Regions from separate parts of the Homo sapiens genome. Here region 1 is linked to region 2. The links are contacts of gene promoters, found by promoter capture Hi-C in blood cells and fetal thymus (Javierre and others, 2016). All regions are on one chromosome and are shown on one strand. The core of a region is centred on a gene start or on the middle of the fragment in contact, and the rest is flanking DNA. Distances in the headings are between cores, read along the strand shown. Region 1 overlaps DNAAF9 (dynein axonemal assembly factor 9). Region 2 holds the start of GNRH2 (gonadotropin releasing hormone 2).

Region 1 (6,025 bases), core at 1,762-4,261, 230 kb before region 2:
AAACATAGGTCCAGGAGATAACCAAGGAGGGCTGTCTCATCCTAAGATACGTATTTGGAAGTCATGGTCAAAGTTAATGGCATGGACTGTAGTCAGCCAGTATCCAGATATAGAGTTGAAAAGATCAGAAGGCTAGAGATGGGGTGAGGGTGGAGGTTCCAGGACACCGAAAGAGAAGCAGGGAAGAGTGTTGCCTGAGACATTGAGGAAGGAGAAAAAGAGATCCACGATGTCTAATGCTGCAGAGACCTTGAGGGAAGAACAGAGAAAAGCCCACTGGCTCTGTAAGTGAGAAGGACCCTGATGACCTGAGTAGGAGGATCTGAGTGGAGAGGTGAGGGCTGAAGCCAGCTCCAAGTGGGCCAGTGGTCAAGTGAGATACTGGAAGCCAGCAGGTGCAGATGATATTCTAGAGTGCTTGGGGCTGTAAAAAGGAAGATGGCTAGAGAATACTTCCAAGAATTGTCATTTCTTAATGATCAGTTCCTCCTTATTTGCTGCTGAGAAAGCCTGTGGGCTGCAAGGAGATACTAGGTTTGATAGAGGGGACCCCTGAGAAGGAAGGGGTAGGGTCCAGAGCCCAAGTGAAGATTGACTCAGAGAAGCAGTGTCCTTGAGAAGAGCTTTAGTTGGAAGCAGGTGAAGTTGAGGAAGTGTTTGCCTAGGGGGCAGTATTGACTATCAGATGGTGTGCCTAGGACTTGCTGACCTGTCCAGCCTCAGGCCTGCCTTGTTCTTGTAAATGCTGGAGCCTTCTTTTCCTTTCAGAGCCCCTTGTCCACCGTGTGATGATTGGCACCCTAGTGCACCTCAGCTCCTTGGCATTCTCCCTCAGTGTCCCTCTTCTTTTTTGCATGAGGAACAAGCACAGATGGTGGGGCTTCCCTGGCAGAGAGCCTTGGGGAAGTGTTCTGTTTTCATCATTGAATCAGGGGCAGCCCTGGGCTTGTCTCACAAGAGAAAAGCCCCTTTTAGTCTGAACCCTTTGAGGCCAAAACAGACTGTTCTCTCTGGCATTTGGTAGGCATGTTTCATTTATACTGCCTTCCAACTCATTGTGCAAAGACAATGTGTGTTAAACTCTGTGCTTGTGTAGAGCTAGGGGTGTGATCAGATGTGGGCTGATCACCTTCAGGCCACATATGCTGTTTTCGGAACTCCTCCAAGGGGCTCATGGAGTGACACTGCCTTGCTTCTGGGCCCATGGGACCCTGTGGACTGGCCTGACCAGGCTTGCCATGGGCATGGGCTGTCTGGGGAGGGAGGAGATAAAAGGCAAGTATTTCTTTTCTCCTAGGAGATTTGGTAGCTGGCTTGGAGGTGGGATCTGCCAGCAGTAGACAAATACTTCATGTCCTAAGGGAGCATATTTCCTCCCTTTGCTCCTGTTCATGAGTCAGGCTACCCGATTCATAAGAGATTATTTTCCAGTTAGAAAAGGACTATGTTGCAGCCCCAAGACAATGTGTATTATAGAAATCAAAGGACTAAGAAATAATCTCAGTGCTTAAACAGCAAGTAAGACTCATTATAATGCTGGTGTGAGAGCAAAGTGGAGATACTTTACTGTCATGGCCTGCTTTTAAAAGCATCTGTAGATAGAAGAAGTCACCTTTGTTTTCTGCTGGGCTTCTGGAATACTTTAGCCCAGACTGGGATGGTCAGCCAGACAATAGGGATGTTTCTCTGCTCTTGGGAATAGGATACGCCAGGCTGTCTGCTCGCTCACAGCCCAGACTGGTGAGACCTTGGCCAAATCTGGCTGTCCACTCCTTGATACAGAACAGAAGGAAGCTCCTGGCCCAAACAAGGTGGAACCGCTCACTATGGCCTGTTCACCCTGTGCTCCAGATAACTGCTGTACCTGCCTCACAGATGGCATTTCCTCTTGGCAGGTGGCAGTTTACATAGCTGGCCTAAGGAATGCTGGGGATAATCCTCTTGCTTGTTTCCCTATAAAGCAAAGCCCCTTTTCTGTGCCCAGTTCCTGACCTAGAATCCCAACCCCACAAGCTTTGTCCATATGGTACATGTGCAGCAGACAGGACTTTGTACAAGTTGTGTCTGTCAGAGACCCAGATCCCAGCCTTTTCTTGGGCAGGCCAGGCCTGTGCTTGTGACCCTGGTGCACCACCGTTCATATGGCCACATTTGCACTAGTCTGACACTTTGGTTTCTTTTGCCCAAGAAGATACCAAACAGAGTCCTAGGGTATTTATAGATCTTCCCTCAACCTTTGCTGGCTCTTCACTGCCAGACCCGCCAGAGCTCTTCTTGCCTTCCACCCTGGGAATCTGGCAGGCCCTTTGTAGGATATGGCTTCCATGTCTGCCATCTCTAGAATGTGCTGAGGCTTCTGAGATCCTGCTTGCCTCCCCACTGTGCCACATTTTGGACTTGGCCTCCTGACTTTGCCTTACTCAGTTTCCAGAGGCCCTACTTTCTGTGGCTGCACCAGGGCATGGGATTCTGGCATCAAGCTTTCCAGGCTGGCTTTGCTGCCTCATCTGCAGCCTCCAGAGTGCACTGCAGAGTGACCTTTCCAAATGGCCATGCGAACACAGGTACCAAAGACTAGAGGCAGGGGACCAGGGGTCCTGGAATCTGCCTTCAAACTATTCCTTGCCCCCCATCTAAACCACGAGTGTAGCTGCCTTGGCTTGTGGAAATTGTATGACTTAGTTTCCCAGTGGTTGATATGGCCAAGACCCAATGCCACAGCCACTGACAGGCCCCTCTATGTACAGGGAGAAGTCTAATTCTCAGGCTGATGCTCAATTGACAGTGCTGATGGTGGTAGTGGTGGAAATGATAGATTGTATTTCATGGATTCTTACTCTCTGTAGGCCCTATGATAAGCCTAGGTTTTATTGATAACCTAGAGTGATGTGTTACGGTTCCCATCTTACAGAGGAGGATATTTGGTTTCAGAGAGAAAGTAGAGCAATTTGTCTAGTATCACCCATTAGTAATTAGCGGAACTCAAAATTCAAACTCAGGTTCACCTGGCTCTAAATGCCTTAGTCTTTACATTATGGTAGCTTTTCCCATAGAGGAAGAAGATAAATAATCTAAGTCCAGGCCAGGCGCAGTGGCTCACACCTGCATTCCCAGCACTTTGGGAGGCCAAGGCAGGTGGATCACCTGAGGTCAGGAGTTTAAGACCAGCCTGGCCAACATGGTGAAACCCCATCTCTACTAAAAATACAAAAATTAGACGGGTGCAGTGGTGTGCGCCTGTAATTCCAGCTACTCAGGAGGATGAGGCAGGAGAATCACTTGAACCCGGGACATGGAGGTTGCAACCAGCCGAGATCACACCACTACACTGCAGCCTGGGTGACCCAGTGAGACTCTGTCTCAAAAAAAATAAAAATAAAAATAAAGAATATAAGTCCTGTGTTTTAAGTGCCACCTGTGTTATTCAAAAGAACTTTTTTTCTTTTTTTTTAGTTCAGAGAAGGGGAGAGAGCAGGGTGGCATGAGGGGAGGACTAGGATGATAAAATGTTAAGAAAGATTTGAAGGAAGATGTAAGCTTTACCAAAATTAAAAAGTAAAGGGAGTAAGTGGGGGGAAAAGGTGCAGAACAGTGTAATGTGTCACTACTTGTGGAAAAAATTATACTCAACACTTTTGTATATACTCAGCAGATCTTCTGGAAGAAGAGGTAAGAATCTGATAACTGCAGTTGCCTCCAGGGCAGGGAATTTAGGTGTCTGGACAGGAAAGGAATTATTTTATTTTCTTTGTGAACACTTCTGATATAAATTAGATGTTTGTCCCCTCCAAATCTCATGTTGAAACATAATCCCCAGTGTTGAAAGTGGGGCCTAGTGGGAGGTGTTTGGGTCATGGGGGCAGATCCCTCATGAATGGCTTGGTGCTGTCCTTGTGATAGTGAGTGAGTTCTTACTCTTGAGTTCACAGGAGACCTGGCTGTTTAAAGGAGTGTGGCACCTCCCCCGCCCCTTCTTGCTCCTGCCCTCACCACTGTGATATGCTGGCTCCCAGGCCTTCTACCATGATCTTAAGCTTCCTGAGGCCTCCCCAGAAGCCGATGCCAGCGCCACGCTTCCTGGAAAGCCTGCAGAACCTTTAGCCAATTAAGCTAAAGGTTCTTTATAAATTAGTCAGCCTCAGGTATTTCTTTACAGCAACCCCAAAACAGCCTGACACACTTTCTATATGTTCTGAGTTTCGCCCTCAATAACTGAATACAGCTAATTTTTTTAACTTAACACTTGACTGAAGTAAATAGTATCAGTATAGAGTGTTCATTACTGAATATTCATTACTTAGGATTCTGCAGTTACAAGGTCACTTAGGAAAGCAGAAATCTCCATAATTTAGAGATATTCACTTAAGAACTATTCATTTATAAACCTACTCTCACCGGGCGCGATGGCTCACGTCTGTAATCACGGCACTTTGGGAGGCCGAGGCGGGTGGATCACCTGAGGTCAGGAGTTCGAGACCAGCCTGACCAACATGGAGAAACTCCATCTCTGCTAAAAAATATAAAATTAGCCCGGCATGATGGTGCATGCCTGTAATCCCAGCTACTCGGGAGGCCGGGAGTCTGAGGCAGGGGAATCACTTGAACCCAGGAGGCGGAGGTTGTGGTGAGCTGAGATTGCACCATTGCACTCCAGCCAGGGCAACAAGAGCGAAACTCCATCTCAAGAAATAATAATAATAAAAAAATAATTAAACTACTCTCTATTAGTAAATGGGTTGATGATGAGCATTGAATCTTTTTTAAGTATAGAATTATAACACCTGTGAGAATTCTATTACAAAATAGAATATAAATGTTGAAAGCCTATCTATGAAATTATATTTTACAAAAAATTGGCAGAGGAGAGATACTCTTTACATCTTTCAGAATGGGAGATTGATAAAGTTTAAAGCTATTAAATCAAGTTATAAAGGGTTAAGTATACTCTTTAAAGATATAAAAGTGACCACTAGAGGAACTGAAAATCCTAATGAAGCTGGGTGCCGTGGCTCACGCCCGTAATCCCAGCACTTTAGAGGAGGCCAAGGCATGAGGATCACTTGAGCCCAGGAGTTTGAGACCAGTCTGGGCAACAAAATGAGACCCAGTGTCTAAAAAAAATAAAAAAATTAGCCAAGCATGGTGGCACGCACACCTGTGGTCCCAGCTACACAGGAGGCTGAGGCAGGAGGATTGCTTGAGCCCAGGAGGTCAATGCTTCAGTGAGCCACTGAATATATAAATATATATAATATGTAGACTTCCTTTGGTTCCTGATTCAAAAATTATTAACTGAGAAAACATTTATAAGACAGAGAAATTTGAACACAGACTGGATTTTTTTATATTAAGGAGTTCATTGTTAATATGTTTAGAGTCCTTATATTATGGAAATTCACGTTGAAGTATTTTTGTTTGAAATAATTGGGTATCTGGGATTGACTTCAAAATCATACAGTAGGGGAGCCGGGGATGAGCTGGGTGGAGTGTAGATGAAATACGATTAGCTGAGTGTTGGTAGTTCCTGAAACCAGGTGATGGGAGTTCATTCTACTATTTTTCTAGTTGTGTATGTTTGAAATTTTCTACGATATTAAGAAGTACAGCTGGGTGCGGTGGCTCACACCTGTAATCCCAGCACTTTGGGAGGCCGAGGCAGGCAGATCACGAGGTCGGGAGTTCGAGACCAGCCTGACCAACATGGAGAAACCCCATCTCTACTAAAAATACAAAATAAGCTGGGCATGGTGGCGCGCACCAGTAATCCCAGCTACTTAGGAGGCTGAGGCAGGAGAATTACTTGAACATGGGAGGTGGAGACTGTAGTGAGCTGAGATTGCAACATTGCACTCCAACCTGGACAACAAGAGTGAAACTCCGTCTCAAAAAAAAAAAAAGAAGAAGTAAATAAAAATTATTGAATAACAAAAATGCAAAATGAATAATCTTATATATGCGCTATGATTATAACTGTTAAAATAGGAATGAATATGGAAGGGGTATTATAATTATCTTGGGGTGGTGA
Region 2 (5,986 bases), core at 386-2,885:
TCACCACCTGGTCCTCTTGGCCCTGTTGTCTGTTTGAGTGAGGTTGCATCCCTCACCTCTTTCCACTGGCCTGGGGTCTGTCCACCTCAAGACAGTCATTGGCTTGTCAGGATGCCTGTGGGATCCCATGGCCACCACTGTCTTATAGAACAATTATCTCCTTCTAGTCTACTAGTGACTTTGGTCTTTAACCCAAGTGCTTTGTAAATTGTCTAGAATCCTCCTGGGAAATAGGAAGGATAGCAGACAGCACCCTGCTGTGTGCAGTAGGGGCACTGAGAAATGGCTGGGGGTGCTGTGGCAGGGGGCATCTCAGTGGTGTTTCATTCTCCCCACCCTCCCAGCACCCAACCCTAAGCCACAATGGCCTCTGATGACCAGTGGCTGGTCTTGATGCTGGGGACCTCTCACCCTACTCACCAGCAGTGTCCGTGCCAGGTGTCGCTTCCTGTGAAGGGACCACTGGGCCGTGGTCCTGCCCTCCCAGGGCATGCTGTCGTCCAGGGGAGCCAGGGCATCACTTGGGAGGCCATGGGCAGTCTGGACTGGGCTGCCTGCTGCAGTGTCCAGGGCCCTTCCTTAGAAGGGAACTGATGCTGTCCTCCCTACCCCGACCTCAGGCTCCAGGAGGGTGGGGGAGCCCCCGGCCATCACTTTCTTCCTCCCCATGAGGCTGGGAGACACCCACCTGGGGGCCTAAGGGCATTCTGGGGATCCTGGGCTGAGCTGAGGGCTCGCTTTCCTCCAGGGTACCAGCCATGGGACCAGTGCTGAGCCTCTGAGGGTCCAAGGTGGGCAGTCAGCAGCAGCAGGAGCAGGAGGCCTCGCCTGGAGCTGGCCATGGCTGCTCTAATGGACAGGGTACAGCATTCAAGGAGACTTACCTCACCCCCACATCCCCCTACTTCCTCCAGGGCCACTTTGGAAAACTGGCATCTCAGGGGCAGCTTTGGTATCTCCTTATGCCCTTCCCTCTCTGCCACCGCTCCTCATCCCAAGCATACAGGGGTCCAGATCCTGGGGGATCCTGGCCCAGCAGGGGATGATGCTCCAGGGGACGAGCCTTCTCCCTGAGCCTGGGGCACAGAGGCTACCTGCCTTGCCAGCTCTGAGGGCCCTCCCACTTGTCCAGGTCCATCCATCTTTCCTTCAAGGAGTTTCCAGAAGTGGAAGAAAGTTGGAGGGGAACAGAGACCTGAATTCAGGCCAATGGATGGGAGGATAGATGGATGGTCAGGGGAGTTCTCAATGTAGGCGTGTTTGGAGCACCAGTGCTAGGGAACCAGAGTTGCAGGCCTTCTGCCCTTTTCTCCGTGGCCTGCTGTATCTCTTCCATAGTAGTTGGGGATGTGGAATGGATGAGTGGTATTGATGGGGGCAAGTGCTTCTACCCCTTATCCCTCCCATGCCAGGGGCAACAAGCACAAGAATAGATGGTAGAGCTGTTGGGGAGAGGAGAGGAAAAGGGGACTTCTCTGGCATGGTTCAGGGGTGGAGGCACCTGGGAATGGGGAAGAGGAGCAGCACACCATACGCCCAGGATGAAACTTGGTCCAGGTGTCCTAGCCCTTAGGGAAGGCTCCCCACTCACCAAGGAAGAGCTGTGGATGAGATGGCTCCTTCAGGCAGCTGCAGGACCCTAGCCTGATGGCCCCAGGATTTATAGACCAGGCAGCTCCACCCCCAGACTCCAGTGACGTCTTCAGAGGGGAAGAGAGAAGCTCACCACCCAACCCGCTTCCCAGAGCATCCAGTCCATGAACATTCACCAGGCAGCTGCTGCCCTGAGGCCACCGACACATGCTCCCTCCCCACCACCTTCCCAGGAGCCTTCAGGCCCAGGACTCTTGCTTTAGGCTGGCCTATGTCCTGGTCTCACCTTCCCACTTCCCAGGCTGCATCTTCAAGCTCCTGATCTTGAGACCTAGAAAGCCCTCACAGCCTTCCCTGATCCCAAAAGAGAATTGTGTCCTGGGCAGGGGCAATGCCTGGGGGCTCCCCAACTCCCAGCTCAGGGCTTTCCCTGGTGGACAGTGGAAGCCTAAGAGTAGGGAGCCTGGCAGGCTGTTCAGAGGTACAGGGGAGGCTGTGACCACTCTCCCAGAGGGCTTCCGTTTGCTCACTGTAGAGTGGGTTGGGTGGGACAATTCACATCCACACACCTGGGAACCAGGGCTGGGTCACTCCAGATGGCTGGGTTTGGGTGGGGCAGTACCTACCCCGGAGTGGCTTCTCTCCTGGCGAAGAAGCGGGCCCATGAGATGGGGCCCAGCTGTTGGGCCAGTGCAGTCTCCCTAGGTAGGTAGAATAATTTTGTCCCTCAAGGCTCTAACCCCTCCCCAGTCATGGATTTGGACACAGCTAGCCTGGGCTGCTGGAAGTGGGCTCTTGCTTCCCAGTCTGCGTCAGCAGCTCAGCTTTCCTTGGCCAGCCATCAGCCTCTGGGGGTCAGAGGCCTGTTTACAGGGTTCATAGCCAATCTCCGCACTTGGGCTGAACAGCAAATGGGAGGGCCAGGGTCATTTGGAGAGCTGGTGCGTCAAATCCTGTGACAAAGATGGGGGAGGGGAGGCATAATGGGCATCAGTCAGCCCTAGACACCTGGACTTCAGCAGCCAAGGCAGGATGGGCACACCTGTGAACTTCCAGACTGACTTATTAGCAGGGACCGGAAATCAACGTGTGGCCCATTTGTTCAGTTAAATTGTTTTGGCTTAAATATGCGGACTTTGTTAACTGGGTGATTTTTAGGGAAACATTTGCTTGTGGTTTAGTGAAAATGAATCTGAGTTCGACGTACTAGTTTAGTTCTGGTTGGGGTTTACAGAATGCTTTCTTCAAAGATGCACCAAGGCTGGTGTACCTTTAAAAGGGGGATGGTTGCCTTTATTTATTCTGTAATTTGATTCCGGCTTTTCCTGAAAAATCTAAACCAGAGCCAAGCTTCCTGGGGAAAGCTCTGCTCCCTTTTTTTTCCGGCAACATACTTAGCTTTTAAGAAATGTTTGGTCCTTTCCAGACTAGAACTGTGGAACTCTTGTATCCCTCTCATTAGAACATAGAAAGCCATCTGTTCACCACGGAGCTCCAGTCCTCAGGATATGAAGTCACTGCAGCCAGGAGCTGCGTGTACTCAGGTGGGAAAGCAGAGGTTCAGAGGTGAATAAACACTCAGGTGCTGCAGGAGCACAGAGAGGCACAAACCCTGAGCAGGCGGCCTGGGTGAAGGACAGAGACGAGTGAGCTGGAGTCACGGACGCAGGGAGTGGCAGCAGAGGGGTGCAGCATAAGGAACAAAATGGAGAAGGGCCAGCAGGAACTGCCGTGGATCCATGGGGCCAGAGTATGTGGGAAGGTTAGAGGAAAGGAGGGCGGGCCCCTGGGTGTGGGCAGTGGGAGGCAGGCATCTCTGGACCACCCTGACATGCGACCAGGATGCGGGGGACTTGGGATTGGAGGAGAGCTGAGGGTCCACAGAGACAGATCCAGAATCCTGACCTCTGAGAGAGGAGACAGTGGAGGAGCAGCTAAAGGGTGAGGATAAGAGGCAGAGGACAGCCTGTGACACAAAGGGGAAGAGACCATGGGTCCCTGGTGTTTAGCACCAAGGTGACCTTGGTGCGCAGGGATGGAAAAGAAATGTGTGGGAATGAAGTGAGGAAGGGGGAAGAGTGAGAACACAGGTTTCTGCAAGTAGTCTCTCATAGAGGGAAGAACTTAGGCCTGGGGTGGGAGACATGCTCTTTATTTAATTAATTAATTAATTCTTTTTCTTTTTCTTTTTTTTTTTTTGAGATGGAGTCTCGCTGTCATCCAGGCTGGAGTGCAGTGGCGTGATCTCAGCTCACTGCAGTTTCTGCCTCCCAGGTTCCAGCAATTCTCTTGCCTCAGCCTCCCCGGTAGCTGGGATTACAGGCACGTGCCACCACGCCCGGCTAATTTTTGTATTTTTAGTAGAGATGGTTTCACCATGTTGGCCAGGCTGGTCTCGAACTCCTGACCTCAGGTGATCCGTCCGCCTTGGCCTCCCAAAGTGCTGGGATTATAGGCATTAGCCACTGTGCCCGGCCTATTTTTTTTTTTTTTTGAGACAGGGTCTCACTCTTTGACCCAGGCTGGAGTGCAGTGGCATGATCACAGCTCACTGTAGCCTCCACCTCATGGGCTCAGGTGATCCTTCCACCTCAGCCTCCCAAGTAGCTGGGACTACAGGCGTGTGCCTCCATGCCCAGATGATTTTTGTTATTTTTTGTAGAGACAGGATCTTGTCATGTTGCCCAGGTTGGTCTCGAATCCTGGGCTCAAGTGATCCACCCGCCTTGGCCTCCCAAAGTGTGGGATTACAGGTGTGAGCCACTGCACCTGGCCTGCTCTTTATTTTTAATGAGAGAGACTTGAGTATTTGGGACAGGGGAGCAATGAAGGAAACTGCAACCCAGGAGGGACCCGCCCAAATGAAGTGAGGTCTCAGTGTGGCAGGATGTAGGGCTTTGGGTGTGTGGTGGGTGCAGGCTGTTACTCTTCCCCTATGGAGAAACACTCCTACCCTAAGCCCCTTGGGTCGCAACTGACTGGCTGTGGGAAGGGCACTGGATGAAGCAGTCACTGCTGCCTTTTCCACACGACTGTGCTGTGTGAGCTTCAGCACATTTTCCTTTTGGCCTATACTAGTTTCTGTTGGGTTCACCTCTCTTGTAAACATGCAAGCCCCGAGTAGAAAGTAAAAGAGGAGTGAAGAGGGAGGCATGAAGGGATGAGGGACACATCTACAGGCTGAGCGAGACACGGAGCAAACAGCTGAGGTCATTCCTACCTGGAGACAATGGTTTTGCACCCAGGTGATGCCTATCCACTGGCCAAATCAGCACGGACTTCAGCAGAAAACCACTCAGGCCATGGTGGCGCACCCTGCTGAAGGCCAGCCCTGGCAATGGCAGGCAGCCTGCTGGGAGGCACACAAGCGCCTATGAACGGCCTCACCTGCACATTCACTGAGTGGCTTGCTGACCCAGTGCCTGCCCTCCTGCATCGACTTGGACTTGGTCACACAGAGCACTGAAGGGTAGCTTGCAAGGAGCCAGGGGCTGCTCCCCAAACTTGGCACCCCTCACCAGAAATTCCTCAGAATCTGTCTTTGCCTAATTTATCCATACTTATCGAGACTGCTGAGTTTTAAGTTTACTGCCTCTTGGGAGTTCGTTAGTTCCTACAGAACTGAATGTCTCTAATGACTCACACTCACCTCCTGTAAACTTCCAGAGGGGGTCTGTTGCAGCCCTTGCCTCCTGCAGGTCTCCTGGGTCCCTTCCGCACATCTCCTTCCTTCCCACAAACATCCTGGGTATGTGGTGCACAGACAGGCTTCCCTCCTGGAGCCACTACATGTTAACTGCTTTATCTGGACTCTGAGGCCCTCTGTAATGTGGCTCTACTTCGCCTTTCCTCCTTTTCACTCATCTAAATTTCCAGCCTCCCATGGGTCCAGCTCAAGTCCCACCTCCTCCAAGAAGCACAGTAGTGCTGATCCCTGAACATGCCTCCATGGGCCAGGCTGAGGTGCCATCTCTCACTCCAGAAGCCTCTGAGGAGCCCAGGCCTGCGCTGGCTCTCAAGAAAGGCCCTGCCTGACAGCCACAGCCACGAGTTCACTCTCCTGCTCCTGTGGTGAGCTGCTCTGAGGCTGGGAGGCAGTGGACAGACCCACTCTCCCAGTGTGCCCCCAACAAAAGATCACACTTCCCCAGCACTCCCTGTAGTTAGGCATAGCTATGACCAGGTGAAAACCTACTTGTGAAGCTGATGAGTGGAATGCGGGGTGGATTATGAGTGGAAGTGAAAAGTGCAGATTTGGCTTCCTGTCCTTAGAAATGAAGCTGCTGGCTCTCCATGCTCTTTCCTCAGGGTGGATTATGGACATGGCAGTGACCCAGCTTCAACCATGAGGATGAGAATAATATCCTAAGGATACTGGGTCTCTGGACAGCAC

Evidence for each region. The method cuts DNA at HindIII sites, captures the fragments that hold promoters and counts their contacts. A CHiCAGO score of 5 or more calls a contact.
Region 1: a contact is called between a fragment that was not itself captured here and the fragment with the promoter of GNRH2 in region 2, in 1 of 17 cell types (M2 macrophages). The highest score is 5.4, in M2 macrophages.

What each region holds. Positions count from the first base shown.
Region 1 is chr20:3,271,498-3,277,522 of GRCh38, reverse strand. All of the region lies in intron 29 of DNAAF9 (dynein axonemal assembly factor 9), which reads left to right. Among named protein-coding and RNA genes, the nearest start is that of SLC4A11, 35 kb to the right of the region's middle. The HindIII fragment of the contact is 1,057 bases long and covers 2,483-3,539 here.
Region 2 is chr20:3,039,271-3,045,256 of GRCh38, reverse strand. It overlaps GNRH2 (gonadotropin releasing hormone 2), which reads right to left and starts at 1,635. Exons shown (of 4, transcript NM_178331.2): 1 at 1,592-1,635; 2 at 689-849; 3 at 421-557. The coding sequence starts at 842. The HindIII fragment of the contact is 14,485 bases long and covers 1-2,945 here.